2 separate regions of the Homo sapiens genome follow, and region 1 is linked to region 2. The links are contacts of gene promoters, found by promoter capture Hi-C in blood cells and fetal thymus (Javierre and others, 2016). All regions are on one chromosome and are shown on one strand. Each heading gives the region's core, a stretch centred on a gene start or on the middle of the fragment in contact. The rest is flanking DNA. Distances are from core to core; before and after follow the strand shown.

The links. Contacts are between HindIII fragments. The CHiCAGO score rates a contact against its expected background, and 5 or more counts as called.
Region 1: a fragment that was not itself captured here is called in contact with the fragment with the promoter of CACNA1G in region 2 in 6 of 17 cell types (M1 macrophages, M2 macrophages, M0 macrophages and 3 more); the score reaches 10.3 in M1 macrophages.

What each region holds. Positions count from the first base shown.
Region 1 is chr17:50,640,603-50,645,227 of GRCh38, forward strand. All of the region lies in intron 1 of ABCC3 (ATP binding cassette subfamily C member 3), which reads left to right. Among named protein-coding and RNA genes, the nearest start is that of ABCC3, 8.0 kb to the left of the region's middle. RefSeq lists enhancers at 1-448, 126-420. The HindIII fragment of the contact is 9,662 bases long and covers 1-4,625 here.
Region 2 is chr17:50,557,142-50,561,964 of GRCh38, forward strand. It overlaps CACNA1G (calcium voltage-gated channel subunit alpha1 G), which reads left to right and starts at 3,574. Exons shown (of 38, transcript NM_018896.5): 1 at 3,574-4,560. The coding sequence starts at 4,319. CACNA1G-AS1 (CACNA1G antisense RNA 1) reads right to left here. Exons shown (of 2, transcript NR_038439.1): 1 at 4,787-4,823; 2 at 1-317. RefSeq lists enhancers at 3,124-3,173, 4,533-4,823 and a silencer at 3,394-3,773. The HindIII fragment of the contact is 9,044 bases long and covers 1-4,823 here.

The sequences.
Region 1 (4,625 bases), core at 1,949-4,448, 83 kb after region 2:
CCGCCTCCCAGGTTCAAACAATTATCCTGCCTCAGCCTCCTGAGTAGCTGGGATTACAGGCATGCGCCACCATGCCTAGATAATTTTTTTAAATATTTTTAGTAGAGACAGCGTTTCGTCATGTTGGCCAGGCTGGTCGCAGACTCCTGACCTCAGGGGACCCACCCTCCTCGGCCTCCCAAAGTGCTGGGATTACAGCACAGCCAGTTTTTGACCCCTGCCCCCAGGCCTTCCAAAGGCTGAGGGAGGGTGAGTGGGGATCAGCACGTGTCCTTGCTCTCTCCACGCCTTCATTGCTGCTGAGTCAATGGTCTTGTCTGTTCATCCCTTCCCTATCTGGGACTTCAGGAGCTGCCCTGCAGTGGTGGCTTCCTTCTCCAGTACCACACAGGAATAGGGAAGTAATGACTCTTCTCATGACAGAGACTGTCAACAGGCCTGGGGCCCCCAGGGCTTGGGAAGTCCCTGGCAAAGCTGGGGCAGAGGGCTCCGGGGTCCTCACCCCCCGCCCCCATCGCCTGTATGAGTCTGCAGTGATTTCAGCTTCAGTGACCATGAAGTCTGCCATGAGGGGGCCTCTGCCACGTGGTCCATTCTGGATGTGGGACCTTACCCCTTATCAGCCCCATCCAGCTGTTTAATCGCATTATTAAGGAAGCTGTTGTTGCTGTGGAAACTGTGTGGGTGATGGTGGGGGAGGGGGCTGTGGGCTCAGCTCTCACCTCCCAGCAGTGCTCTTCAGAGCGGGAATGAGAGGAGAGCCTTGAGTAGGGATCGTCATCCTGCCCTGCAGGGATTCAGGGAGTGTTACAGGGTCCAGGGAATAACCTTCACTGGCCCTGTCCTCACCTTCATTTTACACATAACTGAGTTGGAGACCCTTCTGGGTGCCAAGAACTGTGGCCTTGGTACCAGGGAGAGAACACTGTGTTCCTGGGCATGAAGCTGCAGAGGCTGCGGCTGGAGTTGGCACCCTCCATTTATCTATTCATTTGTTTATTCATTCTTTTGTTCAATAGATGGTTATTGAGTACCTTCTCTGTGCCAGGCCCTGCTCTAAGCAACAGGAAATACCATCAACTGCAGAATACAGAGCTAAAGAATCTGTCTTCGTGGAGCATATACTCTAGTGGGAAGAGGCAGTAAAACAAGAATCATAAAGGCCAGGTGCAGTGGCTCATGCCTGTAATCCCAGCACTTTGGGAGGCCGAAGCAGGAGGATCACTTGAGCCCAGAAGTTCGAGACCAGTCTGGGCCACATAGTGGGACCCCATCTCTACAAAAAAATTAAAAAATTAGCTGGGCGTGGTGGCACATGCCTGTAGTCCCAGCTACTCAGGAGGCTGAGGCAGGAGGATCGCTTGAGCCCAAGAGGTCAAGATTACAGTGGGGAAAAAAAAAAAAAAAGAACAGTTGAATGTGGCACTGTCATGCCGTTCAACCTGTAATTTGAAGGTAGAATGGACAGGGTTTGCTGAGAGACCGGATGTGGGATGTGAGAGAAAGAGAAGAATCAGGGGCAACTCCAAGGACTCTGGTCTGGGAAGAGAGACAGGAGGAAGGAACTGCCATCCCCGGGCCAGGCAGGCTAGAAAGGCAGGGACGGCCAAGAGCTCAGTTCTGGACGTGTTTTGTATGACGTGTCCCATAGTTGATGTCCTAGCTCAGGGTCTGGAGTGAACCAAATAGGGAGTTAGGGGTGAGGGCCTGTGTGGGCGGGTACCCCCTGCCTCCTAGGGAGGGCCCTGCCCAGGTGGGACATGCTTATCTCAAGGAAAGGAGCCCAGGCTGAATGCCCTTGAGGGTCAAAGCAGCCACCCAGTTCTCACAGCCCCAAAGTCCCCTGGTTGTTGCCACAGAGCAGGTGTCTGCGAAACCAAAACACGGGCCTGACAGCTGGAGGCTCCATCACCCGCTTCCCTGAGTGTTGTCCCGTTGCCATCGAAGTGCTTTGCTGTTCATTCTCCCTCACCTTCTCCCCGCTGTGGGGAGGTGACCAGATGCTGTCATCACTCCCATTACTCACAGGTGGAGACTGAGGTTCAAGGGCACGAAGGGGCTCACCAACAGTTGCATGGCTCAAAAGTGGCAGAAGCCATCCTGGATTCTCCGCATCGGGGTTGGGTTCTTCCTGTGGCCACTCCCCACCCGCCTTACAGAGCCATGCCACCGGCCTGCAAGTGCACACAGCGATTCCCACCATGTCCCCACGCCTGGGCTCCTGTCCTCAACATGCACACTCCCTTGTGAGTCAATGGCCCCGTGTGGCATCACAAAGCCTGGGTGCCTGTCCCGGCCACACACTGCTGGGTGTCCTTGAACCTGTTGCCAAAGTGGGTGTAGTTTCTCTTTTGTACACTGGGCCTAACAGTGCCCCTCCTATATACCCCTGGAAGTTGTTCTGAGACAACATCCAGATAACAACTAGGTAAGTGCAGTAATAAAATGCGGGAGAAACATTAGGGGCCTTTATTTTCCTCACTTAACTGGCTGCCAGGGAAAAGCAAGGAAAGGTCAGAGGCTGGGGTGCCCCAGAGAGGCCCCATGTAGATGAGGCTCTGGCTGGGCCCAGAGAAATGGGATGTACACTCCGGCCCAGAGACCTGAAGATCTGGGTTCAGGGCAGCTTTGGGACAGGCTATCTGGATGGCAACTAACTGGAGTACCTGATCAGGCCTAGAGGTGTGTCCTGTGACCCAGTGTCCAGGCCTGGGCCAGCATGTCAGAGACTCAGCAAGAGTATGTGGGTCCTTGGCTCACATTGTTTGAGCAACTACTGAATACTGAATAGGACTACTGAATACTGAATACTGAATAGGACAAGATGTACATGGTACAACTTCTGCCCACCTGGGCCTTCAATGAAATGCCCCCAGGCAGCATGTCCCTGACTGCATGCTTCACAGAGCAGGGATAGGCCTGCCCAACGTGCCACTGTATCTGCAGAACCCAGCCCACTGCCTGACTCACCAAGGCCCTCACCAAACATTGTCAAGGCCAAGAGTGACGCTCCAGGGAAGGGGATCTCTCTAGGAGGAAGGGTGCTCAAGATGAAGAAGGTGGGTTTTCAGCCAGGCCTGTCACCCCTCCCTGGAGTGGTTAGGTTAGGATTTTGACAAGTGGTAAAAAGAGGGACTAGGTTGAGCAAGGGGGTAGGAGCAAGAATCTCAGAGCAGATTTAGGATGAAGTGAGTTGGCTGTGGGGGAAGGGAGCAATGGGAAAGGAGGTGGGAGGAGATGCCATGGGGGGGGTCTTGAGGACCAGGTTGGGTGCTAGGATGTGGCTTCATGAGCAGCAGGAGTCACTGCAGGTTTGTGGGCATGAGGCAAGAGGCACAAAGCTGTATTTTGGGAAGAGCCATCTCGCAGGTGGGCAGGGGCACTGGAGGGCAGAGGGCTGCCCCAGATGGGATTAAGAAGGGAAGGCAGGCCAGGCACAGTGGCTCACGCCTGAAATCCTGGCACTTTGGGAGGCTGAGGCGGGCGGATCACAAGGTCAGGAGTTCGAGACCAGCCTGACCAACACGGTGAAACCCCGTCTCTACTAAAAATACAAAAATTAGCTGGGCGTGGTGGCGGGCATCTGTAATCCCAGCTACTCAGGAGGCTGAGGCAGGAGAATCATTTGAACCCGGGAGGTGGAGGTTGCAGTGAGCCAAGGTCACACCACTGCACTCCAGCCTGGGTGACAGAGCCAGACTCCGTCTCAAAAAAAAAAAAAAAAAAAAAAGGAAGAAGGGAAGGCAGGCTGGGGAGGTTGGGGAAAGGAAGCAGGGAGTGCAGATCACTCCCCTTCCATGAGTTGTTTTCTTAAGATGCTAGAACTTGGCCAGGCATGGTGGCTCACCCCTGTAATCCCAGCACTTTGGGAGGCTGAGGCTGGCAGATCACTTGAGGTCAGGAGTTCCAGACCAGCCTGGCCAACATGGTGAAACCCCATCTCTACTAATAATACAAAATTTAGCTGGGTGTGGTGGTGTGCACCTGTGGTCCTAGCTACTTGGGAGGCTGAGACAGGAGAATCACTTGAACCCTGGAGGCACAGGTTGCAGAGAGCTGAGATCGTGCCACTGCACTCCAGCCGAGGTGACAGAGTGAGACTCCGTCTCAAAACCAAAACAAAACAAAAACCAAGGCCGGGTGCAGTGGCTCATGCCTGTAATCCCAGCACTTTGGGAGGCCGAGGTGGGCAGATCACAAGGTCAGGAGATCGAGACCATCCTCGCTAACACGGTAAAACCCCGTCTCTACTAAAAATACAAAAAATTAGACGGGCATGGTGGCGGGCGCCTGTAGTCTCAGCCAATCAGGAGGCTGAGGCAGGAGAATGGCGTGAACCCGGGAGGCGGAGCTTGCAGTGAGCCGAGATCACGCCACTGCACTCCAGCCTGGGCGACAGAGCGAGACTCCGTCTCAAAAACAAGCAAACAAAAAAACAGAAAACAAAAATTAGCCTGGCGTAGTGGCATGTGCCTGTAATTCCAGCTACCCAGGAGGCTGAGGTGGGAGAATCGCTTGAACCCTGGAGGCAGAGGTTGCAGTGAGCCAAGGTCGCACCACTGCACTCCAGCCTGGGTGACAGAGCGAGACTTGGCCTTAAAAAAAAAAAAAAAAGAAAGAAATTA
Region 2 (4,823 bases), core at 2,324-4,823:
CAACCCCTCTTGCCACTGTCGTCCCATTGACCCTCATGAATGAGTTGCGAAGGCAGTTACCTTCAGCCTCCTATGGATAAATATTCGAGGCCCAGAGAGGGTAAGAGACCTGCCTGCGACCCCTCAGCACTTCTGTTTCTCTCTGGGGTCTTGAGGGTACAATAAAGACCCCTAAGGCTTCCTCTTCTCGCAGGAGGTCCAGGCGCAGCTGTGGGGGAGGGTGCCCTTGGTGTCTTCTGTCCCTGCAGCCAGTCTGCTTTCTACTCGGCAGCTCCTCTCTCCCTCCTGGGATGAGATGTGCACGCGATGATGGGATTCTGTAAATGGGTTGGGAAGAAGGAGTTACCTCCTTAAAGGGTTAGTTCTCCCAGGAGTGCTCGAATTTCTAAAGGGGGCAGGGTCCCACATAAATCTCACTCAGAAGCAGGATTATAAGAGTTCCTGCAGCATCCCTTCCCCTTTGCTGGTCCCTCTTGAGTGTGCACCCTGTTCTACCAGCGGAACACCTGCGGGCCAGGGTCACTGGAGACAGGGCCATACCGTCTGGGCAGTCACTTAAGTAACTTCATCATTCTGAGCACCCCCCTTCCTTATCTGAAAGGTGGGGGGCCATCCACCCAGCTCTCAGGGCTGTTAAGGTGACTAAATGGGATAATGGTTGTATCATCCCTGAGCAAAGGGTATCACAGATGGGAAGATTATCTTAGCTCCGCAGGGAGCCAGATGGGCTGTGAGGGAGGGGTAAAGGCAGGGCTGGAGGGGGCTGGAGGGGCTGGCTGAGCAGGGTATATATGGGGGGGGTTCTTCCTCAAACCCAGAAAAACTCTTAGTTAGGCTTAGTGTCTTTGTTGAGAAACTGAGGCCCAAAGAAAGGAATTTCTTGTCCCTTTGTTTCCCTTTCCCTGCCTGAGGTCATTCATTCACCTAACAACTTTGTGCCCGACACTAGACAAGGCCCTAGTGAGCAAAATGAACATAGCCCCTCTGGGAACACAGAGCCTAGATAGGGAGATGATCATTTCATTACTGCAAACACAAACATATAATCCCAGCCTGGGCTAAGTGCTGTGAAGTTCCAGACTTGTGTCTGGCTCGGTGCTGTATCCTAAGCACCTTGGCACTTAAGTGGCATTGAAATACTTGCTGGAAAGAAGGCCACTCTGAGGAGGTGATGTCAGAGCTGAGGCTTGGAGGGCTGGAGTTAAATAAAGATGGTTTCAGGTCTTCTTTGCCTTCCCTGTAGGTTCTGCCTCTGCCTCCTCTCTGGCACTCAGGCTAAGGGTAAGCATCTCCGACTGGCCATCAGCCCCAACATGCCGAGTACAGGGATCAGATCCTGTCTTGCGTGGCCGGTCTCCCCTAGGTCCTGAACCCAGGGAAGTGCATGTGGATCTCAATTTATCTAGATGGTGCGTTTGTGCCTGCCCTCCTTTCGGGCATGTTCTAGAACAGAGTTCAGTCCAGAGCCCAGGGGTGGCCGGGATGATGGATGAGGGTGTGGGGCCTGCTGACCACCAGGGGACCTGATCATTGGGCTGGGCCAGCCTCTCTGTCCTCATTTTCCCCTCTGCAAAGAAGGGGTGTTGGGCGTCCCTACTTCTCGCGCCAGCCCCGGGGCCTCTATCCTGGCGGGAAGGGCAGGCCGACCCGGCAGACTGCGGCCTCTCGGGAGGGAAGAAGGTGTCAGACGCGCGGAGCAACCATAAATAGCCCCCCTTTCCCAGAAGACGGCACGGGGTTCAAGACTCAGGCGCCGCATACTCAGAATGAGAGCAGAGACTCCCGCCAGGAAAAAAAGGCACTTAGGGGATCTGCTCATTAGCATGAAATGCAAATGAGCCCGCCCGGCCTCATTTACACAACTCTGTGCATGGATTCGGCGAAAGGGCAACCAGGGAGACGACGGCGCAGCAGCCACTCTGCCACTTCCCCCATCCCCTCCCCCCATCGGCCGGGGCGGGAACTGAGACGACCCCAACCCTCTGCGGTGGCGGGAGGTGCGCGGGGGCTGCGTGGGTGGTGCAGCCTTAGGAGAGTGAACAACGCCCAGGGGTGATGGCCTCAGCAAAGTGAGGGGTGGTGATGGAGGTCATCCGACCCATCCCGCCGCCTCTCCGCAGTGGCGCAAGCGCCCCAAAATCTCCGGAGAGGGAACTGACTGACCCACTAGGTTCCGCCGTGTCTACCTCTCGCAGATGTTGGGGAAGTGCTTCCCGGCGTCTAATCCTCGCTGTTCCCCCCTCCACCGGCGCCCAGCACACCCGCGGCGCTCCGCTCCCGGGTACCCACAGCTTTCTGGAGTGGCGCCGGCGGCAGGAGAGAGCTAGAGCCGACTGAGCCCCAGAACTCGGGGAGGTAGGCGGGGCAAGGGCCGGGGTCTGCGCGTGCGTGTGCACGCGTGGAAAGCACAAACCCACGAGGGCCCGCTGCCGGTAGGGTTAAGGTGAGTGAGTGAAGGCGGCAGACCCGCGAAGTTCCAGTTCCGCGGACACTCTTTCCCTAAGCCACATAGGGACTTAAGAGAAACTGAGGCACGAAGTTGGGGGGTGGCGGTGGTGGGGACTTTGAAGGTCGAGTCGATAAAGCCCAGCTCTGTGCTTCCGCCCCCTCCCACACACTCGAGACCCCCACAGGTTCCTTCTTAGGGGTCCTCGCTCTGCTCCGCAGCCCCTCCTGGGGATCCGGGCTCTGCGGTCCAGCGCGACCTGCCTGGGGCCACGTGTTCAAGCACGAAGCCCCTGCGTGGAGTCCACGCCCTTCAAAAGGTCCCTAGGGGCAAAGGGATGAAGCCCAGGAGCGTCAATGTGAGGTCAGGTCCAGCGGGTTAGGGTTACGAGGTCAGGGTCGAAGTCTCAGAATTGACTCGGGAGTATGACCAATAAGCCCAAGAGATTTGTGGAGGCCACGCCCAGACCATGCCTACCCTAGCCTTTCTCGAGCTCCGCCCGTTTCTCCAAGACTGGGCCCCTCCAGCCTGAAGCCCCACCCCCAGGACATCCAGCTCCGCTCCTTCCCTCCCCCAGTCCCGCAGCCAAGCTCAACTCCAGGGTGGGAGATTAACCAGGTGGAGACCTGGGATTTCGCTCTGGGACCCCCTGGTGACAACCCTCACCCCCGTGCCGCCTGTCTCCTTTCTTCCCCAGGCCCGCCCAGAGCTGAGCTCCGTCCTCCGGCTGCTGCCCAAATCAGGGGTCGTGGACAAAGGATGCCTGGGGCCTGCGGCCCTACGCCAGGACCCCGCGCCGAATACTCTGATTCTTCGGGCTCCCTCCAAGGGAGTCCCAAAGACCCCAATGGCCAATAGGAAAGTGGGTTCGGTCTGGGCAGCAGTCTGATTGGCTCCAGCCTTCGGGAGCGGACCCAGGGGCAAGGGGAGGGGAGAGGGGCGGTCCTGGGTTTTGGGGTGGGAATCGGATTCCAGCTGTGGTTCTCTCCCTGCGCTCCCGCCCGCACTGCCACGGCGGACGGCCAATGGGCGCGCGGCTCGGGGCCGGCGGCGTCCGGCGATTGGCTGCGGGGCTGTCTGGGGGCGGGGCCGAGGCTTGAAGTTGAAGTGAGGGATCCAGCTGTGGTGTGCGCGGGGCTCCTCGCCGCCGCTTTCGCTCGCTCGCTCCGCGTCTCGGCCGGAGGAGGAGGCTGTGGCGCCGGCGACAGCTACGGCAGCGGCAGCCACCGCGGCGGCTGCGGCGGCGGCATCTCCGCCTCCACTCCCGCCCGGGACTGCCCCCCACTGTCTCCCCGCCCCTCCCGGACAGTGAGCCCGCGGCGGGGCGGGGGAAGGAGCCGCCCCCACCCCCTCCAAGCCCACCCCTAAAGAGATCCCTCCTCCCCTCCCCCGCCGCCTGGCGCGGAGCCGGGACGATGCTGACCCCTTAGATCCGGCTCCAGCTGCGCCGCGGGAAGAGGGGGCGCCCCTCCCCGGACCCCCGCCCTCCGCCGCTGCCCCCCTTTTCGTTCGCCCTCTCGGGGCGGCTTCGCCGAAGGTAGCGCCGAATCCGGCAACCGGAGCCTGGGCGCGAAGCGAAGAAGCCGGAACAAAGTGAGGGGGAGCCGGCCGGCTGGCCCGGGAAGCCCCAGGGGCGCAGGGGAAGCGGGACTCGCGCCGGGCGGGGTTTCCCTGCGCCCCGGCGCCCCGCGGGCAGCATGCCCCTGCGGGCAGGGGGAGCTGGGCTGAACTGGCCCTCCCGGGGGCTCAGCTTGCGCCCTAGAGCCCACCAGATGTGCCCCCGCCGGGGCCCCCGGGTTGCGTGAGGACACCTCCTCTGAGGGGCGCCGCTTGCCCCTCTCCGGATCGCCCGGGGCCCCGGCTGGCCAGAGGATGGACGAGGAGGAGGATGGAGCGGGCGCCGAGGAGTCGGGACAGCCCCGGAGCTTCATGCGGCTCAACGACCTGTCGGGGGCCGGGGGCCGGCCGGGGCCGGGGTCAGCAGAAAAGGACCCGGGCAGCGCGGACTCCGAGGCGGAGGGGCTGCCGTACCCGGCGCTGGCCCCGGTGGTTTTCTTCTACTTGAGCCAGGACAGCCGCCCGCGGAGCTGGTGTCTCCGCACGGTCTGTAACCCATATCCTTCGGGGCACGACGGCCAGGCGCGGGGTCAGAAGGGGGACGGGCCGCACCGCCGGGGGTCGGGGGGGAAGAAGACCCACCGCCAGGTGAGTCGAAGTGAGCCCGGAGGGTAGGCGGATGGGGGGGGGGCTGCCAGGGAGGGGAGGGGGCACCAGAGTGGGAGCGGAGACGCGAGCAGGTCTCGTCGGTAACCCGGGCTTACCCCACCTGCGTACACACACCTCAGTCTTCCTGGGTTGGGGGGGTGGGGATCCAGGC